Regions from separate parts of the Homo sapiens genome. Here region 2 is linked to region 1. Evidence: promoter capture Hi-C in 16 types of primary human blood cells and fetal thymus (Javierre and others, 2016). All regions are on one chromosome and are shown on one strand. Each heading gives the region's core, a stretch centred on a gene start or on the middle of the fragment in contact. The rest is flanking DNA. Distances are from core to core; before and after follow the strand shown. Region 1 holds the start of PSMD6 (proteasome 26S subunit, non-ATPase 6). Region 2 overlaps ATXN7 (ataxin 7).

Region 1 (5,424 bases), core at 1,728-4,227:
GGTCATAAGACCCTCATTCCAAACATATTATCCCTATGCTCAAAGAAAAGAAATCCCTTATATATGAAGATACAGGGACACAGAGAAGAATCTGAACACACAGACCTTGGTAAGTCCCCCCAGTTTATTACCATCACATCACACCCCCTTTGACCAATCATACTTCTACATAACTGTCCATTCTTCATCAAATTTACCTTACAAATATACAGATTTCTTCATTTCTTTGGGTCTTCATTTCCAAAGGCTCTCATGTCACCTAAAATTTATATTAAATATATTTGTATGCTTTTCTTCTGTTATTTTATTTATTTTATTTTTTTTGAGACAAAGTGTCACTCTGTCACCCAGGTTGGAGTGCAGTGGCACAATCTCAGCTCACTGCAACCTCCGCCTGCTGGGTTCAAGCAATTCTCCTGCCTCAGCCTCCCGAGTAACTGGGACTACAGGTGTGCGCCACCATGCCCTGCTAATGAGGTTTCACCATGCTGGCCAGGCTGGTCTCAAATTCCTGACCTCGTGATCTGCCTGCCTCAGCCTCTTAAAATGCTGGGATTACAGGTGTGAGCCACCTCTCCTGGCCCTGCTATTCTATCTTTTATTATAGGTGCCTCAGCTATGAACCTCGCAATGGGTGAAGAAAGGATACTACTTTTTCTCCCCTGCAGGTTCTCTGTTCAATATTAGTGGCAATGTAAATTGATATATATATCATTTGTGGAAAATAATTCATAAAATACTTACAGAATACATCAAAATATAAAATATTAATGCCCTCTTATTCAGCAATTGCACGTCTAGAGATTTAGATTGAGAAATAACTATTTAAGTGTGAAAATATATATGTACACGGATAAGTGACACTGTAATATTAATAAGATTGAAAAAAACAAAAATAACCCAAATCAACCAGCACTTAAGGACTGATGAAGAAAAAGTTGGTATAGAAATATAATGGGCCGGGTGTGGTGGCTCACACCTGTAATCCCAGCATTTTGGGAGGCTGAGGTGGGCGGATCTCCTGAGGTCAGGAATTCGAGACCAGCCTGGCCAATATGGTGAAACCCCGTCTCTACTAAAAATACAAAAATTAGCCAGGCTTGGTGGCACGTGCCTGTAATCCTAGCTACTCAGGAGGCCAAGGCAGGAGAATCGCTTGAACCCGGGAGATGGAGGTTGCAGTGAGCCAAGATCACCCCACTGTACTCCAGCCTGAGATCCGTCTCAAACAGAGTGAGATCCGTCTCAAAAATAACAAACAAACAGAAATAAATATAATGGAATCCTATATGGTCAATCCATTGTCATCCAAGATATCCACAATACATGGTAGAATGAATAAAACACAGTTTAAAATGTGCGAGTATAGAATGATCATGTTAATATACCCAGATGAGTTTTAAAGAAGCTATGCTTCTCTGGAATGTAAGTTCCAAAGACAGGGCTTTGTGCTCTTCACTGCTGAGTCCTTGAGGCCTAAGACAGTGCCTGGTACTTTGTAACCATGCAATCATGTTTGTTGAATGACTAAATGAAAGAATTTTAGAAAGTTTTTTACCAAAAGTTTAGCAGTGGTGGAGAGCTATTTAATAGTATTTTTTTTTTACTCTTCATATTTTCTCTATCATTTGAGTTGTCTTCAAAATGCTTGTTTCATTTTTATAGAAACAAATAATAGATTTAAATTATGTGATGATGCCTACTGCCTGTGAGATGTGGCAGTCTCACCTGTTTCAGCAGCTGTGTAAACTGGTTCAGCTCTTTTGGAAAACCATTTAACATTAAATATCCCCAAGTCACAAAATCCTTCTTCCCTTTGTCCGTTATTCCTTCATGGGATTTTATGCTAAGGAAAAAGATGCAAAACATGAAGTGATCTAGACATCCAAAGTCTTCATCCAAGTTTTTATATTAGGTAAGTAAAAACTCTGGTCAACCTAAAGACACCTCTAACAGAGGGAAGAGTGAAAGTAAATTATGGTAAATCCATTAGATGGAATTTAGGCCAGGCATGGTGGCCCACACCTGTAATCCCAGCACTTTGGACGACTGAGGCGGGGGAATCACTTGAGGTCAGAAGGTCAAGACCAGCCTGGCCAACATGGTGAAACCCCGTCTCTACTAAAAATACAAAAATTAGCCCGGCATGGTGGTGCAGGCCTGTAATCCCAGCTACTTGGGAGGCTGAGGCAGGAGAATCGATTGAAGCTGGGAGGCAGAGGTTGCAGTGAGCCAAGATTGTGCCACTGCACTCCAGCCTGGGTGACAGGGCAAGACTCCGTTTCAAAAAAAAAAGGAATTTAATGTAAAGATTACCACCTCTGAAGATCTGTAGCAATGTGAACAAAAGGAAGCTGAAAATGCAGGCATGTAATGATTTAATTTATGTGTAAACAAAACGATGATGCTGTTGTACTATGACGTAGAATCCTGGGTGCAGTTTTTTTTTCTTCTTAAAACCGCAGAAAGAATGTGGATTTTAGAGTTCTAGATAGGGGTTTTCATTTAGGCCTTGCGACATGGCTGTTACATGACCTTGGTTGGTCTGTTTCCCTAACCTCTTTGTGCCTCATTTGTCTTACCTACTAAATAGGCTAATAGTACTACCTCGCAGCATGAAGATGATTTTAATAAGATGAATGAGAGTAACGACTCGACAAACTATGGTGATTGTTTTTATTAATGCTGTTATTACATTTTCAGTTTTCAAAAAATTTTAAGCTCCCATCAGTTACAAACGGAAAGTAAAATAGCTAAAAAGGGAGTGAGAAAGAGATTCAAGAAATTGGGCTTTTGAGTTGGGCTGCACCCACTCTGGGACTCCGCAGGGGGCCTTGAGGGTGGAAAAGCCCCCGTGACCACACAGGGGCGCAGGCGCCCAGGCCGGGTGAGGCGTTCCCGGAGGTGTCCAGCAGAGGACGCTGCCGGCGGAGACGGGACCGGAAGCCGGGCCGCAGGCGGCCGGGCGTATTCGCCGACTCCTCCCGCTTCCGCTGCCGCAGCCGGTCGTAACCAAGTTGTGTCCTGTCAGCCGCTGTCCCCTTCGCCGCGATGCCGCTGGAGAACCTGGAGGAGGAGGGTCTGCCCAAGAACCCCGACTTGCGTATCGCGCAGCTGCGCTTCCTGCTCAGCCTGCCCGAGCACCGCGGAGACGCTGCCGTGCGCGACGAGCTGATGGCGGCCGTCCGCGATAACAGTGAGGCCCGCACGAGCGCCGAGTCAGCGGCCTAGGCCTGGGCCGTCCCCGCGTTCCGGAGCCTGCGGGGACTTTTTTTGATGGAGCTCCAGACCCCTCTGACGGGGTCTCAGAGACCAGGCCTGGCTTCTCCGGCCCTTAGGGTTTTGCTTTGGTTTGGGGATACCCTGGGGGACCTCGACTTGCCTCAGCGGGGTCTGCATCTCTCTGTGCCGCCTTCCCCTGTAAGGGCAGCTTGGGGGAGAATCGTGAGGCATTAATATTTACCCCTGTGCTAGGCACAGAGTAAAGGCCCCGTGACTTTCTGTCAGTGGGGACTGCTCCCGGGCGCGGGGTATTCCTGTGGGAGAGTTCAGCTTGCCTGTGGAAGGGAAATTTGGGTTCGGTTCTTTCTGGCCCTTCTGTAGTGAATGTGTATGTTTGAACATATGTATGTGAGTATGTGTGTATAAAAAGTCTTTCCCTGTTTGAAGACTTTTGGAACAGAATCCGGCAAGAGCAAACCGAGGATTGCCCTCCCTCCAGCCCTAGTAGAGGTTGGCATTGCCAGGATTGGCCGTCACGCAAACCTCCCACCAGCATACGTTTATGTTTTGCCAAGCCGATTATTAAGCGCCATCGCATGCCTTCCTGTTAGTGGGGAAGAGACTGGTGGATGACTTGTGGCGGGGCGGGGGGTGAAATACGTGGGCAGACTTTGACTTGAGGGCACAAGTGTCCCCACTCACACATCCCTCTTTTTGCATGTTAGACATGGCTCCTTACTATGAAGCCTTGTGCAAATCCCTCGACTGGCAGATAGACGTGGACCTACTCAATAAAATGAAGAAGGCAAATGAAGATGAGTTGAAGCGTTTGGATGAGGAGCTGGAAGATGCAGAGAAGAATCTAGGAGAGAGCGAAATTCGCGATGCAATGATGGCAAAGGCCGAGTACCTCTGCCGGATAGGTGACAAAGTGAGTAGAGATGGTTTTCCCTCTCTGTAGTTAGTATAGGCTAAAATTGGAGACTATTCCAGGTAATCGTTTCTCATTAAAAAAATTAACTTCGTTTTAGAAAAAGTATAAAGGTAATCATGCTTGCTTGTACTGGTGAATCAATGTAAAGATGAAAAAGTCGTCTCCATGAAATGCCTTGTCATTTCCCCAAACAGCAGCTAGGGCTGTATTCTTCCCCATTTCACCCCATGCCGATAAAAACGTAAGTGTACATCTAGAGAATTTTATTTACTGCTTTTACAAAATTGGGATCATTTTCAGCAGTTTTCTCACTTGGTTGGGAAGCACTGGTTCTGGTGTCTTTAGTACTTTACACGAGTAATACTTAGCAGAAACTAAGAAACAGTATAGTAAATGCTGAAGTTCTGTTATCTTTCTTTACTCTGTACCTGCCCAGGGATAGGCTTTTCAGTTCTTTTATTGTGCATTTATGCAAACTTTTTGGTAATTTTTTTTTTTTTTTTGAGACGGAGTTTCACTCTTGCCACCCAGGCTGGAGTACAATGGAGTGATCTTGGCTCACTGCAACCTCCACCTGCTGGGTTCAATCGATTCTCCTCCCTCAGCCTCCCGAGTAGTTGAGATTACAGGCGTGCGCCACCACACCCAGCTAATTTTTTTGTATTATTAGTAGAGACTGGATTTCAACATGTTGGCCAGGCTAGTCTCGAACTCCTGACCTCAGGTGATCCACCTGTCTCGGCCTCCGAAAGTGCTGGGATTATAGGCGTGAGCCAGTGCACCCGGTCATAAAATCTTTTTTACGTAAAATTTTATATGTAAAAGAATATAAATGCTCAATGAAAGAACCAATTTTTAAAAAAGTTAATACTTGCAGAAATTTTTAATTCTACAGAATTTTTTTTTTAAGTACATAGGATCATAGTGTATTAGTGTAGTCCTGTTTGCCCTTTTCATTCAGCATTATATTTAAGAGGTCTTTTCCATGCCAACATACATAAATCTGGCTCATCCTGGTTAACTGCTGCCTAATGTTCCACTGTAGAGCTAGCTCTGGCATAGTTTATTTGCCTGTTCAGCTGTTGTTGGACATATGTGTTGTTTTCATCTGTTTTTGCTTTAGCAAACTGCTGCTGTAAAAATATGCTTATGTATGTCTCTGTGTGTATATGCTAGTGTTTCTCTAGGGTATAGTATATGAAACAAAATCGCCGGGACAATGAACAGTTTTTTTTTTTCTTCTTTTTTTTAAATATGTGTGGCCAGTT
Region 2 (5,424 bases), core at 2,076-4,575, 130 kb after region 1:
AGGTTCCCTAGGGTTCTAAGAATCCCCTGGCATCTAGGGTAAGTGCCCCCGCCCCCACCTTTTAATGAGCTTATTTTTTGGAACTGATTTGTGATAACTGCAACAAAAAATGATCTTGTCCAAGATAGTAAAAAAACGTATTTTAAAAGTAGAGCTATCACCAGAATGTGTTATAAAAGAATATACTGCAGAAGGCCGAAGGGTTCAGAAACACCCCATCATTCCTTTTAAACAGAGAAAAGCCTACAATGCTACATGGGCAGTGTTATATTGGCTTTTACAGGGAAAATGGCTTATTTTCTAGGAGTAACATTTCTGTGTTCTGTTAAGATTCAGAACTTTGTTGCAATTTAAGGCATAATCTGAATCACCTCGTTATGTCATCCAGTGTGTCAAAATTAAGCACAAACCTACTAATCACAATAAACGAAAGAAAAAAGGCTAAACCAAGTCAGTCTTGTTTTTAACAGTATAAACTTAAATTCTTAACTTCTAGGCAAAATCGCCAAGCTTTAACGTGAGACTGCCACCCTAGGTTCTTGGAGAGGGCATAACAGGGAAGAAAAGGAGCCAGAGAAATTAGTCCTACAAGGAAAGCACAAAGAGTTGTGATCTTATAAATTCAGAGCTTGTTGGGGGAGGAGGAGGAGGGAGAGAAAACAACAACAAAAAAAACAACCTGAAACCTTGAAGGCTGACTCCAATCTCTCCATTCTAGATATGTAAAGACTGAAAACCAAGAGAGATTTATCTCAGCTGGTTTATTTATTCAATAAAAATATGTTGAGGCTGGGGCACAGTGGCTCATGCTTGTAATCCTAGCACTTTGGGAGGCCAAAGCAGGAGGACTGCTTAAGTCCAGGAGTTCAAGACTGCTTGAGGAAGGGTGAGACGCCGTCTCTACAGAAAATTTTTAAAAACTAGCCAGGCATGGTGGTGCATGCCTGTAGTCCCAGTTCCTCAGGAGGCTTAGGCAGGAGGATCACTTGAGCCTGGGAAGCTGAGGCTGCAGTGAACCATGATCATGCAACTGTACTCCAGCCTGGGGCAAAAGAATGAGACTCTAACTCAAAAACAAAACAAAACACATTGAGAATGTGCTCCATGCCAAGTACTGTGTCTGGCACTAGAATTGGCAGTGTTATTCAGCTGAGCCACCTAACTCCTAGGCTGTGCATTTTTCTCTCCATCTTGATACTCACTGCAAATGGAAAAGTCCACAGGCCTAAAATAGCCCACTTTTTTGTTTTCCATGGTGATCTTGGGGAAAACAATATGACTTTGTTGTTAATATTTAAAAGGCTGGAAGATTCATATAAAATTCCAAACTCCTGGTTTCTCTGGGAAAAATCTAAAAATCTGGCCACAGGGGCCAACTTTCCTGGAGGGGGATAACTGAATGAAGCTGTGTTGGGAGCTGCCCTTTGTCATTTGGCATGTAATTTCCAAAGTACTCAGCTGGCTGCATCACTTATTTTCCTTTCAGACCTGTCTCCTGTAGGTAGCCATGCTTGTGTCCCCAAAACTATACTGTCTTCCTAATCTTTTCTTCCAAATGAAAATCGACCACCCAAACCCAAATTTCTTAAGCAGGTTACAAAAATGTTTAAACCAAGTTATATATAAACTGCAGTCATATTCTCCAGAAATACAAATTAATATGGCATCTAGTTTACTCCCTCTCTTTGGACCCCAGTTCCACCTTGCTTTCACTCTCACAGGCTTTCTCCTTGGCAAAGCAAATTTAAGAATGAAACTCTATACACAACCTCTTTTTTCAATGGTGCTACTGTATTCCCCTCTTCAAGGGTTAGAGAGTTTTTCTACCTGCTGAGCTACAGCCACTGCTCAGAGTTACTCCACTGAAGATCAAGTCAATGTGAAAACACACAAGTGGAGAGGGAGCCAAGGCCAATTGTGAGGAAGGGCTCCAGTAACTCTGGCCTGGGTTTCTTGAGTACATTTCAGCCACTGCAGTCAGTCCTAGGGCTTTCTCAACACTTCGTAGAACGCCTCATGTGGAGTCTTATTTTTAAAGGAGCCTCCATTTTCTAACAGCTTCTATTAGTATATACCTACACAATGTTCAGTCCCTCTGCTCTCTCCAAATATGTTCAATATAGCCATCCTTCACTCTTTTGCCATTTCAGGACACACAGTTCTCCCATCTTGAGCCTATCTCTCCCAGGCTTCACTGAGGTTAACTAGGTTCCCTCTTCTTTTAGCAAAGAAAGGTCAGCAAGGCATTTTTCTATCCATTATTTGTGACTACAGGGCACCATTTCACCATTAGCTAAAAGTAAAATATAAAATTCCCAGTAATTCTCCAATTTGTCATTGTGCAAAACCCTGATCAAGTCAGTAGATTTGAAAGTCAATTTATAAAAGCACATGACAATAATAATAGTAGTAGTAGCTGACATTTACTGAACACTTACCATGCGCCCAGTAATAAAAAGTAAGCCTTTTACATGCATCATTTCACTTAGACCTCCCATCTATAACACAGGAACTCTTTCTGTGCTCCTTTATCAGAAAATTGAGGCTTGTGAGATGAGGCCAATAAAAGCTGAGGTAGTGCATGTTAGAGTTGAGCTTAAAACCATTCCCTCCACTGCAATACACCACAATTCCCACCTGTTTCTCCACACCTGTTGTTCATGCCTCCTTGAACTCCTTTCTTACTTTCCAAGTAACTCACATCTAGACTTCAAAACCCAGCTCAGATGAAACCTCATCAGGTCATCATGCCTACTGCCCTAGGTGGGCTTCCTGGAGGCTGGGTCTGCAACATTTCATTCTTGTATCCCTAGGGCCCAATGTTGTTAAGTGTTAATAAATGCCTGATGAATTGAATTGGATAAAATGGAACCACAGGTCCTGACGGCTACCCAGCCACTCAGGTTAATATGTGCCTGGAGTGGGATGCTATTGCCTTGCTAAGAACCCGCAATTAGGCCAGTGGAATAAAGAGCTGCTCTGGCATTTACCTTCACTCTCACCAGGCAAACTCACCTATAGACATCAATGCTAAGGAAGGGAGAAGGAGGGATAAGAGGCAAATTAAAGTCCAGTACTCCGGTTGACAGGAGTTGGGGTGTGTGTGTGTGTGTGTGGGTGTGTGTGTGTGTGTGTGTGTGTGTGAAGGAGCGATAAGAGGCAAATTAAAGTCCAGTACTCCTGTTGACAGGAGTTGGCGGGTGTGTGTGTGTGTGTGTGTGTGTGTGTGTGTGTGTGGTAGAGGTGTCTTTAAAGTTGACTGGGAGGAGGAAAGCCTGGGGAACAGAGAGAGTTTGTTCCCCAATAGTCTACCAGGGGAACGTTAATCTCCTATGACTGGCCTGGGGTTACAAAATTCTAAAATTCATATATGTGTCCTCAGTCAAGTCATTCTTTGCTAGTCTAGCATGGTCCCTTAGGATAGATGTTAAATAAATGAACAGCTAGCACGCGTTTTACTCTGAGGCCATACTTATCAACACTACCAATAAGAACAATTTTCGCTGAGTGCTTAACTTGGATCAGACCCTCTGCTAAACTCTGTACATGCACTGTCTTGTTTAATCTTCACCACAGCCCTACAAAGAATACTTGTAAGTGAGGAAATGCAGGTCTGTAACAGATAAATGGCTTCCCAAAGGTCACTTACCAAATGACTGACAGTAAGGGCAGTGGCTAGTGGGATAAATGTAGTTTTCATTAATAATGCTCGTACAGTTTTTAATTATTCTACCCACCTCTTTAAATATTACCTCCTAAATACAGGCTGAGCAGCACACAACAAATTTCACTCTTCTCTAAAAGATCCAGGGAAAATGCTTCCACTTCTACTAAGCCTTTGTAAATACTATTTGTGATAGAGATCGCCAATAGTCACCTATATTTACATTCTCTGCCTGAGCACATAGTTTGCCTAAATTTCCCAATATTCATTGCAGTAAGGTAGAGACATGTGACTGAATCCAAAATGTGAACAAAAATGTTGTGTAAGCCAGGTGTGATGGCTCACGCCTGTAATCCCAGCACCTTGGGAGGCTGAGGAGGGAGGATCCCTTGAGGCCAGGAGTTCGAGATCAGCCTAGGCAACACAGCGAGACTCCATCTCTATGAAAATTAAAATAAATAATTAGCCAGGTGTGGTGTCTCACACCTGTAGTCCCAGCTACTTGGGAGGCTGAGGCAGGAGGATCACTTGAGCCCAGGAGTTCAAGGCTGCAGTGAGCTATGACTGTGCCACTGTACTTCAGCTAGTGCAAAAGAGCAAGACCCCATCTCTTAAAAAAAAAAAAGTGCTGGGGCCAGGTGCAGTCGCTCGTCGCTCACGCCTGTAATCCCAGCACTTTGGGAGGCTGAAGTGGGCAGATCACTGAGATCAGGAGTTCCAGACCAGCCTGGCCAACAAGGTGAAACCCCATCTCTACTCAAAATACAAAAATTAGCCAGGCGTGGTGCTGCGTGCCTGTAGTCCCAGCTTCTCAGGAGGCTGAGGCACAAGAATCACTTGAACCCGGGAGGTGGAGGTTGCAGTGAGCCGAGATGGTGCCACTGCACTCCAGCCTGGGTGACAGAGCAAGACTCTGTCTCAAAATAAACAAATAAATAAAATAAAATAAAATAAAATAAAAAAAGAAATGTTGGGTGCCACACTTCTGGGCTAGGCCCATACAAACCTCTCTGGCTTGAGCTTCAGTCTCTCCTACCCTCTGTTGGTCAAATGGAAAGGGCTCCAAGTACTTACAGGAGGGCAGAGCCACACAATTTCACTCCTGAATGACTGGGGGAATCAACACACTCTGAGCCTCCTTGCCAACACACTCTGAGCTTAAACAAGAAATAAACATTATATTGTGTTAAGGCACTGGGGTTTTGGGTCATTATAGCAGTTAGCCTACTCTTATAAAGTATTCTTACTATCGTCATAATTTTCATTACCAACAGCAACCGCTACAATTTATTGAAGGTATACTAAGTAGTAGGCATTATATTAAGTCTTTTATATACATTATTTTATTTACTTCTACGAGGTAGCAAAATCATACAGATAACAAAATCAAGGGTCAGAGATCAGTAATCATTTCCTCTTCTGAATATTAAAGCATTTACAATCTGAAAGATTTCAAAAATAATTATGTAATGCCCTGTTATACATGTTACATTGATGGGTTAAGCAGTTTAAGTCCTGTAGTTAGTTGATATTTTCCTTTAACTCAAAACTTGTTTCCCTCATTTGGATAAACAGCTAAGAGGAGAGGGGCTGGGTCTTACATGTCTAAATTCTGTATCATTTTACACACTGTCTCATGAATATACAAATTAATAGATATAATTATATTCTTTAAACCATTTCTCACAGGCATATATGCACTATGTCTCACTCTTTCTCTACTGTGTTTTGGTCAACAAACCCCTTGAGTAAATCTGACC

What was found. The method cuts DNA at HindIII sites, captures the fragments that hold promoters and counts their contacts. A CHiCAGO score of 5 or more calls a contact.
Region 2: a fragment that was not itself captured here is called in contact with the fragment with the promoter of PSMD6 in region 1 in 1 of 17 cell types (total CD8 T cells); the score reaches 6.5 in total CD8 T cells.

What each region holds. Positions count from the first base shown.
Region 1 is chr3:64,021,047-64,026,470 of GRCh38, reverse strand. PSMD6 (proteasome 26S subunit, non-ATPase 6) reads left to right here and starts at 2,977. Exons shown (of 8, transcript NM_014814.3): 1 at 2,977-3,196; 2 at 3,948-4,153. The coding sequence starts at 3,052. LOC105377121 (a long non-coding RNA gene) reads right to left here and starts at 2,396. Exons shown (of 3, transcript XR_940906.3): 1 at 2,320-2,396; 2 at 1,729-1,846; 3 at 111-259. RefSeq lists a silencer at 2,769-2,868 and enhancers at 2,431-3,052, 3,019-3,368, 3,053-3,675. The HindIII fragment of the contact is 6,204 bases long and covers 1-5,424 here.
Region 2 is chr3:63,890,188-63,895,611 of GRCh38, reverse strand. The region is part of intron 1 of ATXN7 (ataxin 7); the gene reads right to left. Among named protein-coding and RNA genes, the nearest start is that of ATXN7, 29 kb to the right of the region's middle. The HindIII fragment of the contact is 5,625 bases long and covers 513-5,424 here.